Regions from separate parts of the Homo sapiens genome. Here region 2 is linked to region 1. The links are contacts of gene promoters, found by promoter capture Hi-C in blood cells and fetal thymus (Javierre and others, 2016). All regions are on one chromosome and are shown on one strand. Each heading gives the region's core, a stretch centred on a gene start or on the middle of the fragment in contact. The rest is flanking DNA. Distances are from core to core; before and after follow the strand shown. Region 1 holds the start of AQP5 (aquaporin 5). Region 2 holds the start of FAIM2 (Fas apoptotic inhibitory molecule 2).

Region 1 (7,449 bases), core at 2,367-4,866:
ATTTTACAGATTCAGAAACCAAGGCTAAGGGACTGGTCTAAAGTCTCACAGGTAGTATATGGTGGAGCCAACACTTGAACTCAGACCTTTTTACACAAAATCCCATGATTTTTCCACTGAGACAAATCCTAGGCTCCTGGGAGGCCCTGGCAGAAGCCAGAACACATGGCTGGGCCTTTCCAGCCCAACCCACTGTCTTGCAGTGGACGGAGAGCCTTGGCGAGGGCAGCAGGGTAGAGAGGACAAAGAATGTGGGGCTGGTTTCTGCCCTTTAAGAGCACCCGGTCAGTCAGAGAACAGAGATCACACACACCAAACCAGACAGAGGCAGGGCAGCATGGAGACAGGTAGACAGACCTCCAGGTCCCTAAGCTGGGGACAGAGAAGGTTCTGAGCTGTCCCATACTCCCACTTTGTGCCAAATGACTTTGCACCTGCAAATGGTGCTTCAATGTCGTTTTGTATCTTTAAGCTGTGATGTTGTATATATACAATGCCTCCCAGCTAGACTGTAAGCCCTTTGGGGACAAGGGCTGCTTCCAGTTCTTGGATGGCGTTCTCCTATCTACCTTCCTTCAACTGCTCTGCATATAATAAGCACTCAATAAATGCTCATTTGCCAATAAGTACTGTTTCTTCCACAACTTGGCAGTGGTAATAGAAATACAGCCCAAGGTACCAGAAGACAGGCGGAGCTCCCTACCACTTCTACCCCAGCCCTCAACTTCTCCCAGGGAACTCAGAAGTCCCCATATCAGGAGAGGAGGGGAAGGGCTCTCCCTAAGACATTCAAATTCCCCCTGCCACAAATGGGGAGACCCATCACTCAGCTCACAAAGGTCCCGGGCATTCCTCTGGAGCTGCCAGGGCAGGGCCTGAGTGCTTGGGCAAAGAGAATTCCGAGACATAATGGGAGTTTACTGTGATGACTTGAGGACAGAGGGACTCTAGTGGTTAGAGAGATGGAAGAGCCTAAGACACAGGCCCTAGGAAACAGAATCAGCTGCCCTGTGTGAGTAACCTTGACAGATGAAATCTCCTTCTTTGGCCTCACCAGGCCCACTCCTGATGACCAAGTCTATGTGGCGACCTGTGGTTCCCATCTCAGGTCACTGTGTGACCCTAGGCAAGTGACCTCTGAGTCTGGGTTTCTTCATGGGTAGCTTGGAATCAAATCACACAGTGGAGGCCAATTATAATCTCTAACTTTGTAGATTATATTCTGAATCTCTAAAATGGCAAGAACAAGGTCTTGGCCTTTATAGTCCCTCATTAGTTCAAATCTTCAGGTCGGAGCTTCCCCTGGCAGCCAAGCCTCTTGTGAGCACTTGTGAATCCTTTCATTCTGAGATGCTGGAGTTTGAGACCTGTGGACTATGAAGACAGTGCCTGGGGAGAGAGGATGAGAAAGCAAGTGAAAGGGTGCGAACTGGAGGCAAGTTCAGCAGCAAAGGAGCCTGGCCCCCAATGGCCTCTGGGGTCATCAGGGTCATTGTCCAGCCCAAGTCCCAGGCCCAGAAGAAAATCCTGCGTACAACTGGCATGTACAGCTGGCATGATTGGCTGGGGACAAAGCGCTGGGACCCATGGAAGAAAGGACAGACTGACCTCCGGCCTTAAGAGGAGAGACCTGGGGGAGGAGCTGCTCCAGCAGGAAATGCCAGAGCTGGGCAGGAACAATAGCGGGGTTTCTTTAGCCCTTGTTTTCTTTGGCATCTTAGCTGCCACAGAGCCCAGAGCCCGCTCCTCCAAGTCCTTAGCATTCCTGCAGGCTCCTCCCCTCAGCCCTGCCTGACAAACTGACAGAGGAGGCACCTGTTCTCTACTTCCTCTGCACCCTCCCGCTGGACTCTTCCCCCTAGCTTAGCACCACACTAAACCCTCAAGGGGCTTTTAAAATTAACAGTCACAACGTAAGGAGACTTTACTGAGCCTTACTCTGTGCCAGGCACTGTGCTAAGGGCTTCTCTAACACACATGGGGATGGGAGTCTTTAATGCAGCTCCTCTCCCGGGATCCTGGGGGTGGGTCCTCCCCCTCTAAGCCCTAGAGAGCCCTCCAGCCTCGTTCTCCACATGCCCGACCTGGAGTGGGTGGGAAGAGGGAGAGGGTGGTGTGCGAGGAGGCAGCAGGTCACAAAGGGGTTACAAGCTCAGAGGGAAGGGGGATGGGAACTGGAAGAAAGTGTCACCCAGACCAGGGGTAGAAGAACTTGACTTTGGGGAGACTGAGAAAGACCACATGTAAGAGAGAGAGACATGGAAAATGAGGTAGAAACAGACAGAAACAAAGAAAGGCACAAAAATTAAGAGGCAGAGGAAAGGTGAAAATAGCCAGGAGACAGAAACTGCAGGATGAGAGAAATGAATAGAGAGAGACAGAGAGACTAAGACAGCAAAAGGCAGGAAGGAAAAACAGAAAATGAGAAGGTGTGAGAGAGAGAGAGATGGAGAGGTGGAGAACAGAGAGACTGAAATGAGAAAGAGACCTCTCGGAGAGAGACCGAGAGGAAGAGGCTGGCAGAGGGAGAGGGTCAGAGACCAAAGACAGAGACAAAAAGAGAAATAGGGTTTTGCAAAGACTGACTGACAGAAACAGATTTCGAGGGGAGAGAGATCAAGACCAAGTGAGGGTTTGAAGGAGACTTAGGGGAGGTGGAGGAAGAGAAGGAGAGTCTTAGATCCAGGGTGAGGGGCTTCTAGCAGGAAGAGGGAAGACGCCAAGACCGCGCTTGGGAGGTCAGTGGTGCGTCTCTACCCCCCCTGCTCCCCCACTCCAACTCCCAGAGTCTCAAGGCCTCACGTCACACCCCCGTCCCGTCCCGTCGACAAGGGGAACCCCGGCCTGGGAGAGGGCGCCTCCGGGGATCCGTTGCCTAGTCCAGGTACTGCCCAGCTACCGGGCGTCGAGGATTGCGAAGCGTCGGGGCAGGCTGGCACGGTGCCCACTTTTCCCAAAACGCCAGCCTTCCAAGCCCAGAAGCTCGCCCGGCCCAGGCCGGGAGCGGCCCACGTCGGACGGCCGGACCGCCCTGCAGGACCCAGCCCGGCCGCCCGCCCCCGCCGCCGGCGGTGAGGGAGGTGAGCGGCGCCGACCTGCGGGACGAGCATCACTCCGACCCAGCCGGGGGTGAGGCGGGTCAGGATGCTCCGGTCGCAGGAGGAAAAGGAGGAGCTGGACCAAAAGCCCGAAGAGAAGAAAAGGGGAAGGCCGCGCACGGAGCGCGGTAAAGGCCGGCGGAGCTAGACGCCCCGAGGTCGGAGTGAAGCGCCGGGACCGAGCCCCGTCTCCCAGGGAGTCCGGGGCGCACGGCACCGAGGAGAGCGCGGGAGCCAACCTGGGCGCATCATGCGCAGGGCCCGGGACGCTGGGCCGGTCTACACCGCCGCCTGGGTCACGTGGCCCGGACGGGCCGGCGGCTGCCCCGGCCGGGGGGCGGGGGTCGCGCCGGGGTTGCGCTGGACGACGGAGAGCGGCGGGCCCGCAGCGGCCTGGAGCCTCCCAACCCGCGCGCCGCGCTGGCCCCCGAGCGTAGGAGCCGCCCCCTGCCCCCCCGCGCCGGCCCCGCGCCCGGCCGCCCGCCCCCTATATAGCGCGCCCCAGCAGGGCCCGCGCCAGGCCGCCAGCCTCGGAGTGGGCGCGGGACAGTGCGCGGCGCCCCGCAGCCAGGCCCCCGCCCCCGCCGCATCCACCTCCTCCGCCGCCTGCGACCCAACGGGCGCCCCCCGCCGCGGCAGCTGCCGCCGGGCCCCCGCGGCCACCATGAAGAAGGAGGTGTGCTCCGTGGCCTTCCTCAAGGCCGTGTTCGCAGAGTTCTTGGCCACCCTCATCTTCGTCTTCTTTGGCCTGGGCTCGGCCCTCAAGTGGCCGTCGGCGCTGCCTACCATCCTGCAGATCGCGCTGGCGTTTGGCCTGGCCATAGGCACGCTGGCCCAGGCCCTGGGACCCGTGAGCGGCGGCCACATCAACCCCGCCATCACCCTGGCCCTCTTGGTGGGCAACCAGATCTCGCTGCTCCGGGCTTTCTTCTACGTGGCGGCCCAGCTGGTGGGCGCCATTGCCGGGGCTGGCATCCTCTACGGTGTGGCACCGCTCAATGCCCGGGGCAATCTGGCCGTCAACGCGGTGAGTGCCCTGGGGGGGGGGTGGGAGCCTCGACCCTGGGGTGGGCTCAGGACCAGGCCTCTTACCCCACCTGGAAAAAAGGGGTGCCGCAGAGTGGGCCAGCCCACACCCTTCACCAGGAAGGCAAGAGCCTCCCAAGGCCAGGAAGGCAACTCTCCAGGCTGATATGTGCTCCCTTCCTGCCCACCTCCTCTCCCCCTCCCCTCATGCTGGCCCACCCTGGTCTCTCTCCAATGCCTGCTACCCCTCCTCTCCTGCCAGAAACTTCTGCCTCCTCCTGTCTCACCTTTGAGCTCCACCTTCCTCCTGGGCCCCTCACCTCTCCCATCACCTCAGTGGAGCGGTTGAGTAGAACCACCAGAGAAAAGCGGGCTGTCATCACGGCTTTGGGTGACCCTGGCCTGTCTGTGCTTCATTGTTCTCAGCGCCTCCATGGGGATGGTTGTGTCTGCCACAGCAGGTGTCAAGGGGCTCACATTTAGAAACCGTAGATAGGAACCCCCTAATGTGGGGCCAGTGCAGAGCAGTTTCTGTTGAGTATTGGTTCCCTCTTTCCCCAACCTGTGCTCCTCCCCTCAACCCCGCACCCCTGCCTCCCTCCCACCTCCTGCAGCCCCAGAGTCAGCCCCCAACCCCATGCAAACTGGGTTCATTAATCAAACACAGAGGAGGATTTGCTTGGCCATTGTCAAGCTGTGAGTCAGCCGCACTGGAGAGACGGGTTTAAGGCTGGCACTGGCATGGGGCCAGGCACGGGCAGGAGGCCGGGATGGGGTGTGAGGCAGGCAAACCGGGCAGCTGCCCACAGGATGGAGGGTAAATGCCAGCTTATGGGGGCTGGGGGTTGGGCAGAGCCATTGATAGGCCCGTGTCCAGGAAAAGCTACCCTGACGCTCTGCCCTTTGGCCACAGGCCTGAGCTTCAAGCCTGTGCAAACTATGAAATGTACAGTGTCTTTAACAAATGGCTTCGCTGGGGCGATGTCCACAGGACTTGGCTTCCAGGTGCCAAGGTGCTCTAAGTGTCCCTGGAGGCCAAAAGCCCTACTCCCCGAGCCCCTGGCTATACAGCCAGAAGGTGGCCGGGGTCCTAACCCGCTATCCCCTTGCAGCTCAACAACAACACAACGCAGGGCCAGGCCATGGTGGTGGAGCTGATTCTGACCTTCCAGCTGGCACTCTGCATCTTCGCCTCCACTGACTCCCGCCGCACCAGCCCTGTGGGCTCCCCAGCCCTGTCCATTGGCCTGTCTGTCACCCTGGGCCACCTTGTCGGAGTGAGCAGTACCGACATTGGGCTGGGGTGAGGGTGGGGCAGGCACTCAAGGCAAATAATGGAGCCCTGGAGCGGAGCCCACTTCAGATGGATGAGTCCAGCAGAGTTTAAGGCCTGGATTTAGGGCTCCTGGACTCTGGCCCTACTGGGCCCCAGAATTGATCCCCCCAAAACCTCTGGGCTGAGGAAAGATGGGAGTAAGTAGGAGGTGGGATGGGACAGGAATCAAACCCAACCTCAGAGCAGAGAAGAGAGGAGGGCGTAGTTAAGGGTCCATGGTTAACCAAGCAGCTGGGATCCTTGGAGGGAGAGGTTGCCAGCCTGAGTTTGAGACCTGGCTGAGCCCCTGGACTGCAGTGTAACCTTGAGAGAGTCCAGATTCTGTGGGAGTGGACCAGGATGTTGCCTTTCTCTCCACCGCCCTGTCTCTATCCAGATCTACTTCACTGGCTGCTCCATGAACCCAGCCCGCTCTTTTGGCCCTGCGGTGGTCATGAATCGGTTCAGCCCCGCTCACTGGGTGAGTCTGTCCCTTCCCCTGGCTCCCTGGAGATGAGGGCCTGGAGACCCAGCAGTGGCAGCTCAGAGCTCACCAGACCTGGATTCTGTGGGTCTAGAGCTTGGGGGTGGGCCACGGAGTGGTGGCTGACAGAGAAAGGGACACAGTAGGGGATGGGATTCAGCTAGAGGGGCAGAGGTGGCTTTGTATGGCCTGAACCGCTGGGGACAGGGAGTCTGAGTATCTATCCGCTTATGGAAGAGGCTCTACTGAACCTGGAGGTGCAGAGGGGCTCTGTGTCAATTCCCTTGAGGATTTGGTGTCCGTCCCCCTCGGTGTCTGCGTGCTGGTCCTCTCTGATGTTTTATTTATCTGTCCCTGTTGAGGGGGTTGGGAGAGTCTTCCTGTGGGTCTGTCCCTGTGGACAGTCTGTCTGCCCCCCCTTTGGAAGCTCATGGTCACTCTCTCCAGGGTCTGCTTCTATCCCTGCGTGGAGGGGACACGCGCTCTGTTCATCCGTCTCTCTGAGGACCCACGTGTCCCCTCTGAAGGTTTATTTGCTTCTCTTTCCGGTGTGGTTGGAGGGAGCCTGTCCCTCTGGGAATCTGTTTGCCTTCTTTGAGGGTCTAGGTGTCTGTGGTCCATGTCTCTGTCCCTGGGAGTGGTGTGTCAGTATATTCGTCCCCGAGGTGGGAGGAAGTCTTTCTCCCTGAAGGTCTGGAAGTCTGCATGTCTGTCTCCTCTCAGGGTCCGTGGGTCTGTCCTCTGTGGGGTGGGGGGCATGTGGTCTTCAAGGTCTGGGGCTCAGCGCCCTGACTCCTGCCCTGTCTCCACCAGGTTTTCTGGGTAGGGCCCATCGTGGGGGCGGTCCTGGCTGCCATCCTTTACTTCTACCTGCTCTTCCCCAACTCCCTGAGCCTGAGTGAGCGTGTGGCCATCATCAAAGGCACGTATGAGCCTGACGAGGACTGGGAGGAGCAGCGGGAAGAGCGGAAGAAGACCATGGAGCTGACCACCCGCTGACCAGTGTCAGGCAGGGGCCAGCCCCTCAGCCCCTGAGCCAAGGGGGAAAAGAAGAAAAAGTACCTAACACAAGCTTCCTTTTTGCACAACCGGTCCTCTTGGCTGAGGAGGAGGAGCTGGTCACCCTGGCTGCACAGTTAGAGAGGGGAGAAGGAACCCATGATGGGACTCCTGGGGTAGGGGCCAGGGGCTGGGGTCTGCTGGGGACAGGTCTCTCTGGGACAGACCTCAGAGATTGTGAATGCAGTGCCAAGCTCACAGGCTGCAAGGGCCAGGCCAGAAAAGGGCGGGCCTGCAGCCTGCACCCCCCACCTTCCCCAACCCTTCCTCAAGAGCTGAAGGGATCCCAGCCCCTAGGTGGGCAGAGGCAGACCCTCCCCAGAGCTCCTTAGGAAGAAGACAGACTGGTTCATTGAATGCCGCCTTATTTATTTCTGGTGAGGATGCATGCGTGGGGCTGCTGGTGTTTAGAGTGGGGGCTACCCAATAAATCACTGATACTCACGTTCCACCTCTGTCTCTCCTCA
Region 2 (7,449 bases), core at 1,095-3,594, 58 kb before region 1:
AGAGAAAATTCTTAGGAGTGTCCACCATTGGTTGTCACTGTCATTGTCCCTGGGGTAGGGGCAGGGTCTCTATGGTTCCAGAAAAGAGCCTGGCACATAGTAGATTGTTACAAATAAAAGGTTATGTCATTTAATCTTCCTGAGACTTGCTAGCTGCATTTTGACCCCTGCTTTAAAATGAGGAGAATGAGGATCACAGAGGAAGAGCGATTCATCCAAGGTCACAGAGCTGCATGTGGCCCACTGAGAGGCAGGGCCTAGGCATCATCCACTGGGATTGATCCTTCTGTTGCGCTGGAAGTGATGCAAGGAGAATGGAGATGGGAGAGAGAAGGGCAACAGAAAGGGAAGAGGAGAGGGAGAAAACAGAAAAGAAGAAGGGCCTTCAGGGTGGAGGAAGGGCAAGAGGATCCAGGCTAAGGGTCTGTTCTGGCCTCATCCTGTAGGAATCTCAGCCTCTCCCCTAAACCAGAACAGACTCACAGAGTGACCCAGTGGAAGGGGCCTCAGAAGACATCCAGTTGAGTCTCTTCCGTCACTGAACAGATGAGGAAACTGAGGCTCAAAGGGAAACGTCCCCATGGCAGGTTGGAAATGCGAGTCCATTTACACTCAGATGTGTCCCCTGCCCCCCACCCGTGGACATGTTTAGCTTTGGTGAGAGGATTTGAGCTGGGAAGGCCTGAATGAGGCAGCCAGAGAAGGAAAGACTGGGGTGGAGGGGGTGGTGTGAAATTGAAACAGCAACAAAAAGCCCGGCTCTCAGAAAATGGGATTTAGGTCTGGTTCCCAGAAGACTGTGTTAGACCTAAAGGGCCACTGAGGAAGACTGCGGACTTCCTTCTTTGCAGGGAGCATCTGGCTGAGGCAGCCTGGAGACAGGCACGCACCAGAAGACTTCTGGTTCCATCCAGGCCCAAGGACCACTGAACTGGAGCGGTCTTCTCCATCCCCCAGCAAGCCTGTGCGTGAGCTGGGGACAAGGGGCAGAGGAGGCAGAGGTCCCCCTCACACCAGGAAGGGAACAGCGCCACTAAAGGGCCTGGTGGAGGCAGGGTGGAGGTGGAAGGAGACTCAGCAGAAGGGGTGAGTTCTCCATGTTTACGGAACTGAACACTCCCCAGGCCTCCCACTGCCTCCCACTCCCCAGCCCCCCTCATCACCCGGATCTGAAGGATCATGTCCACCTAAATCGAGTTCAGCCTCCACCCTGCCACTCCGCCCCCCAGAGCCTCCTGGACCCTAATGCCCAGGCCCCCGACACACATACGGCACTCCCAAGTGAGGTGTGACCAATGGCGGGAGGTGGTATCACCCAGTGACATCATTTGAGGCCCAAAGAGCTTGCATACAGGGAGAGGAGGGTCTGAGGGTCCAGGGAAGGATGTCATTGGCTCTGAAGCTCCTCTCAAAGAGAAGAAGGGGGAGTGTAGGGGAGGTCCTTCCCCTGTTTTCTCTGCCCAATCCTTAGCAACCCAAACAGAGGGCCCGAGTACCCTCCCCCTTAGCCCCAGGCCCTAGTGGTTGTATAATTCCACAGGCTATTGATGTTACATAAGCCTACTAGGCCAGCCGAGTCTCTGCCCCAGCCCCTCCCCTACAATTCAGGCCTAAAACTGGAGAAGAGATGCTTCATCCGGACCCATCCATGCCTGGCCAAAACCAAAACAACAATTAGAGCATCTTGATGCAGAGTTGTCATAGCAAGCCCCAAGCACAGGGATGGAGCCAAGACGCCCAGATGTGGAACAATGGCAGGGAGTAGGGTGGGGGTTGTTTCCGTGGAGGGTGGGAAAGATGAGCATAAAGTGGTTGGGTTTGGGACTGGAGGGTTGGGCCAGAGGGGGTTGCCCGATAGGCACTGCCCCTCAGGGCTCACCCTGGCACACACATACCCATGCACACACATACAGTCACACCAGACGCCCGGGCTGACTCCTCACGGGGGGCCTGGGTATCTGTGAGGAGCCTTGTAATGCTGTAATGCCAAAGCAGGGGTGGCAGGGTGACAGGGGAGGAGAGGCGCGCCTGCGGGCAGGAAGAGGCCTCGGTCCATTCCTTGACACCGGCCTTTCGGTCCTCTGACTTCAGCAAGGACCACGGAGGACCTTCAAACTAGGGCCAGGGGAGGATGCTTTCGTGGTCCAGAGGGCTTGCTGAGGATGACAGGGAGCCGGGAGCCGGAGGATGGAGGATGGTGCAGGCTGGGGAGATGCCGGTACCTTTCCCTGGGTCATGGTGCCGTCTCTCGGGGAAGGGGTCCCTGAGGCCCGGGTGGCCGCTTGGGTAACCGCAGCCTGCCTGCGTCTCTTCCTTCCTCCGCGTGGGTTCTAGCAACATCCACTGCAGCCGGGCCAGGCGAGCCGGCGCGTACCATCGGCGCGGGGGGAGGAGAGGGCCGGGCCTGGGAAGATGCTGCGGAGGACGCTGCGGATTCGCGAGCCCGGGGTAAGGCGGCGGCGCACCGCCCCCTCCCGCCGCTTCCCCCCCACCCCGCCCCCCACCGCCGCCCTTAGCCCTCCCCCGGGATGAGAGAGAGTCGCGCTGCGGAGCAACCCCAGTGGATGGGTCCGCGGGGGCTGAGCGGGCGGAGGACGCGGGAACTCCGTGACACCGACCAGCTGACGCTGCCCGCGTGAAACCAGAGCCGGGCATCAGGGCCTCATCTCCACTGTCTCTGCACCTCTCTGCAGCTCCAGCTGCGCCTCTGCCTTTTCCTCCTCCCTCTTTGGATGCGGCCCTGATTTCTGTCTCCATCTCCACCTCCCCTCTCATCATCTATTTCATCATCCCTGGTAGAGGGGAAGGTCTGGAAGTCTCGCCTGTGCTGCCCGCTTCTAACAGGGCCCCTGGGCCCTGCGCTCCTGTGGGCCTGGGGCAAGCCAATAGCCACCTATCCTTGCTCCTTTTTCTCGCCTGTGAAATGCACACAGTAGGTCCCTCCCTGCCTTGGTTCACAGAGACATGGGGTGGGAGGACACCTCTTCTGTTTCTTTCAGCCCTGCTGGGACATTTCACGGGGTCTTTCTGGAGACACCGCTAGTTCTGTCTCAAAGCCTCTACAACCCCTGCCAGAGCTCTCTTCCTGCCTCCACGCTTAGCTTCCATCACCCCGTCTCCATCTTCCCCCCTTTTCCATTCCTCCCATGCCAGAGCTCGTTCTCCCCGCTTCCCCAGACGTGTCACTGGGACCCAGCCATCATCAGGCCCCGTTTTCTGTAGCTGCTGCAGTGTCACTATGGGGTTTGCAATCTCAAGAGCTGGGATCAAGTCCCAATTTAGTCACCCACTGGCCGCGTGGCCTTGGCAAGGCCCTTAACCTCTCTGAGCTGCAGCTCCTACGAAAAAGAGGCTTAGAACAGAGCTCTGTCCATCCTAGATTGACTGTCAGACGCACAGGTTATGGCCGTAAAAGCACATAAAAGACCAAGAAGTGCTGGAAGTATGTGAGGTATTATTAACTGAGGAGTCTCCTACCAGAATGTCCTGGGCTGCCCCAGAGCGAGCACCCACAAATCTGCCTAAAAGAAGTATCTGAACCTGCTAGGATGGGACGAGAAACTAAGACCTGGGACAGGTGGGGGTGGCCACTTACCTTCTGCTTCCCTCTCACTGCCCAGGGACCCACCTAAAGTCCCTGAGAAAGCAGGGCCCAGGTAGGCAGACAAATTATCAAAGTCTTTTTTTTTTTTTTTTTTTTTTTTTTTACAGAGAAAATCTTGTTCTGTTGCTCAGGCTGGAGTGCAGTGGCACAATCTTGGCTCACTGCAACCTCTGTCTTCCGGGTTCAAGTGATTCTCCTGCCTCAGCCTCCTGAGTAGCTGGGATTACAGGCGCGCACCACCACGCCCGGCTAATTTTGTATTTTTAGTAGAGACAGGGTTTCACCATGTTGGCCAGGCTGGTCTCCAACTCCTGACCTCAAGTGATCCACCCTCCTCAGCCTCCCAAAGTGCTGGGATTACAGGTGTGAGCCACCGTGCCTGGCCTAATTATCAAAGTCTTTATCCCACCCCTTTTTGCCCTTTGTCCCCCACTCCATAACCACCAATTTTGCACAAACACACTTAAGCCTGGGCCTCCGTGTCCAGAGGCTCTCTCAACCCTACAAACCCGAGCTCTTCTTCCAGCAAGCTGTGCCCTGGTCCCCAGCACTGCACCTGGAGCTCTGACCAGCTGGTCCAGGTTCTGGCCTTCCCTCCTTCTCTGCATCTGCATCCTGGAAGTGTTTTCCTTCTCCTGCTTGACAGCTTGAATGCCACCTCCTCCAGGAAGCCTCCTTCCCCCCCTAGTTGGGGTTAGATGCTCCTCTTCTGTAGTTCCCTAGCACCCTGATGTAACGCCTGTCACGTGGCGCTGTGAAGTTTCTTTGACTGACTCCCTGTTACACTCTAAGCTCCTGTAGCAGTTTTGGTGTGAGCTGGACTGAATGCAGTGCCAGGTGTGTGGAATGCACTCCATCAATTGTAGCTAGTAATATTTCCCAGACATGGCACTACGCAGAGCCTGACTTTCATCAGCCTTAGCACTTTCATGTTTGTGAATCACTCCTGTTCCTTCTCTCGCATTCACTCTGCTCCAGCCACACAGGCCTCTTGGCCATTCCTTAGACTGGGCTGAGCATGCGCTTAGCTGAGGCCCTTTGCACTGGCTGTGTCTTGTTTGGAAATTCTACAGATCATTGCGTGGCTCCCTCCCTCACTAACTTCACTACTCTGCTCAGACATTATCTCAGGGGTGGTCTTCCTGATCTTATACAAAGTAGCAGTGCCACCCGCATACCCCCACCCAGCAAATTGGACAGTCCCTTTTTTCTGATTAAGCTTTATGTTTTCTATGTCAATTGTCACCTCTGACATGTTTTGTTTTGTTTTGTTTTGTTCTCTCTCTCTCTCCCATTAGAACGTCAGCTACAGAAGAGGAGGAGTTTGGGGGTGTTGTGTCATTGCTTTACACCTGTGGGTTAAAATAGTGACTGACATGGATGTGGTGGGTTGATAAGTATTTGGTTGAGTAAAGTACAGCATTATACAAAATCCTTATATTCCTCAGACATGTTGACATTGTCAGTGCTATGATGTTTCTCAGATGTTGGACTCTATTACCTTGACATTGTGTATATGTCCCCCCAACTTTTTTTTGAGACAGGGTCTCGCTGTGTTGCCTAAGCTGGAGTGCAGTGGTATGATCATGGCTTGTTACAGTCTGAATTTCTGGGCTCAAGCATCCTCCTGCCTCAGCCTCCCAAGTAACTAGGGTATATGTTCCCATGAGGTGGTCTTTGGATATTACTCAAAAAAATTTTTGTTTTGAGGTGTAGTTTTGCTCTTGTTGCCCAGGCTGGAGTGCAGTGGCACGATCTCAGCTCACTGCAACCTCCGCCTCCCAGGTTCAAGCGATTCTCCTGCCTCAGCTTCCTGAGTAGCTGGGACTACAGGCGCACACCACCACGCCTGGCTACTTTTCCTATTTTTGGTAGAGACAGAATTTCACCACGTTGGCCAGGCTGGTCTCGAACTCCTGACCTCAGGTGATCTGCCCGCCTCAGCCGCCCAAAGTGCTGGGATTACAGGCATGAGCCACCGTGCCCAGCTGACATTACTCAAATATTAAACATTCGTGTAACATTCCTCTGGGATCTGGTGATAGTTAGGTGTGGTAGTCAAAAGCCAAGGCTACACAGTCAAGCAGCTTTGCTCCAGATCCCGGCTCCTCTATTTAAAAGCTGTATGAGAGCTTGTGAGAGATGAGTTGTGAAAGTTGTGAGAATGAGGAGAGTTAGGATTTGTAAGGCACTTAGAACAGAACCAGGCATCTAACACATGCTCTATGCATGTTTGATGACTATAAGCACACAATAAGCTCTTGGTGTTAGCTATTAGTGTTAGCCTTAAGGGTTCCACAAATATTGTTTAATGAAATAATTTCCACCACATAAGGCAGCTCAGTTCCACAGTTACTCATTTGTTCATTCATTTGTCATGTCTGTGGTCTCTGTCCCTGTTGACACATTTGGTAGAAGCCATTCTTCAAGAAGAATGAGATCCCTTCAGACTCACCCCCGGGCAGGAGGGGACAGGCAGTGCTGGGGTGGCTGAGGGCTGGGAGAATAGTGCCTCAAGGGAGTCAGAAACAGTAAGGGGCTCCCCAGGGGAGCTGGGGAGGTTGTTGGGGTAACATCCTCAAATCTCCACCCCATGATAGGCTTTATTCTGTTTGTACAAGGCGGGAAAGTAATGGGGAGTTTCAAGCTTTATTTTATTTTATTATTTATTTAATTTTTGAGACAGAATCTCACTCTATCGCCCAGGCTGGAATGCAGTGGCACAATCATGGCTCACGTCAGCCTCAACCTCCCAGGCTCAAGCGATCTTCCCATCTTACCCTCCCAAGTAGCTGGGACTACAGGCCTGCACCACCATGCCTGGTTAATTTTATTTTTTGTACAGACAAGATCTCACTATGTTGTCCAGGCTGGCCTCGAACTCCTGGGCTCAACCGATCCTTTTACCTCGCTCTCCCAAAGGCTGGGATTACAGGAGTAAGTCACTGTGCCTGGCCTCAAGGTTTTATTGAACATGGAAATGACGTGTTTAAAGTCATGCTTCAGAAAGACCAACCAGGCCAAGCGCAGTGGCTCATGCTTGTAATCCCAGCACTTTGGGAAGCCAAGGTGGATGGATCACCTGAGGTCAGGAGTTCGAGACCAGCCTGATCAACATGGCGAAACCCCGTTTCTACTAAAAATAAAAAAAAATTAGCTGGATGTGGTGGCACATGCCTGTAATCCCAGCTACTCGGGAGGCTGAGGCAGGAGAATCGCTTGAACCTGGGAGGCAGAGGTTGCAGTGAGCCAAGATTGCACTGCTGCACTCTAGTCTGAGCAATAAGAGTGAAACTCAGCCTCAAAAAAAAAAAAAAAAAAAAAAAAGATAAGAAAGACCAACCTCTGTAGTAATTTTTGCTATTACATTGTTTTCTCTTTTTTTCTTTTTTTTTTTTTTTTGAGGTGGAGTCTCACTCTCTCACCCAGGCTGGAGTGCAGTGGTGCGATCTCCGCTCACTGCAACCTCTGTCTCCTGGGTTCAAGCGATTCTCCTGCCTCAGCCTCTCAAGTAGCTGAGATTATAGTCACCACCATCATGCCCAGCTAATTTTTGTATTTTTAGTAGAGACGGGGTTTCACCATGTTTGCCAGGCTGGTCTCGAACTCCTGACCTCAGGTGATCCACCCACCTTGGCCTCCCAAAGTGCTGGGATTACAGGCGTAAGCCACCACGCCAGGCCTAATTTTTCTATTTTTAGTAGACGTGAGGTTTCACCATGTTTGCCAGGCTGGTCATTATATTGTTTTATTAAATAAGGAAGAAGATTTTGTCTGTGAACATGTGGGAGGGATGGAGAGAGGAAGAGATTGAAGGTGCAGCGGTAAGTGGAACTTTAGTGATG

What was found. The method cuts DNA at HindIII sites, captures the fragments that hold promoters and counts their contacts. A CHiCAGO score of 5 or more calls a contact.
Region 2: a contact is called between the fragment with the promoter of FAIM2 here and the fragment with the promoter of AQP5 in region 1, in 7 of 17 cell types (M2 macrophages, M0 macrophages, endothelial precursors and 4 more). The highest score is 11.4, in M2 macrophages.

Annotation. Positions count from the first base shown.
Region 1 is chr12:49,958,256-49,965,704 of GRCh38, forward strand. It overlaps AQP5 (aquaporin 5), which reads left to right and starts at 3,617. Exons shown (of 4, transcript NM_001651.4): 1 at 3,617-4,125; 2 at 5,237-5,401; 3 at 5,837-5,920; 4 at 6,737-7,427. The coding sequence starts at 3,763. The coding sequence ends at 6,922. It overlaps AQP5-AS1 (AQP5 and AQP2 antisense RNA 2), which reads right to left and starts at 4,528. Exons shown (of 3, transcript NR_110591.1): 1 at 4,412-4,528. AQP2 (aquaporin 2) reads left to right here. Exons shown (of 4, transcript NM_000486.6): 4 at 1-623. It overlaps LOC105369764 (a long non-coding RNA gene), which reads right to left. Exons shown (of 3, transcript XR_001749143.2): 2 at 7,428-7,449; 3 at 6,247-6,664. The HindIII fragment of the contact is 7,065 bases long and covers 1-6,993 here.
Region 2 is chr12:49,901,556-49,909,004 of GRCh38, forward strand. It overlaps FAIM2 (Fas apoptotic inhibitory molecule 2), which reads right to left and starts at 2,345. Exons shown (of 12, transcript NM_012306.4): 1 at 2,223-2,345. The coding sequence starts at 2,237. It overlaps LINC02396 (long intergenic non-protein coding RNA 2396), which reads right to left. Exons shown (of 2, transcript NR_146570.1): 2 at 7,327-7,449. The HindIII fragment of the contact is 12,443 bases long and covers 1-4,821 here.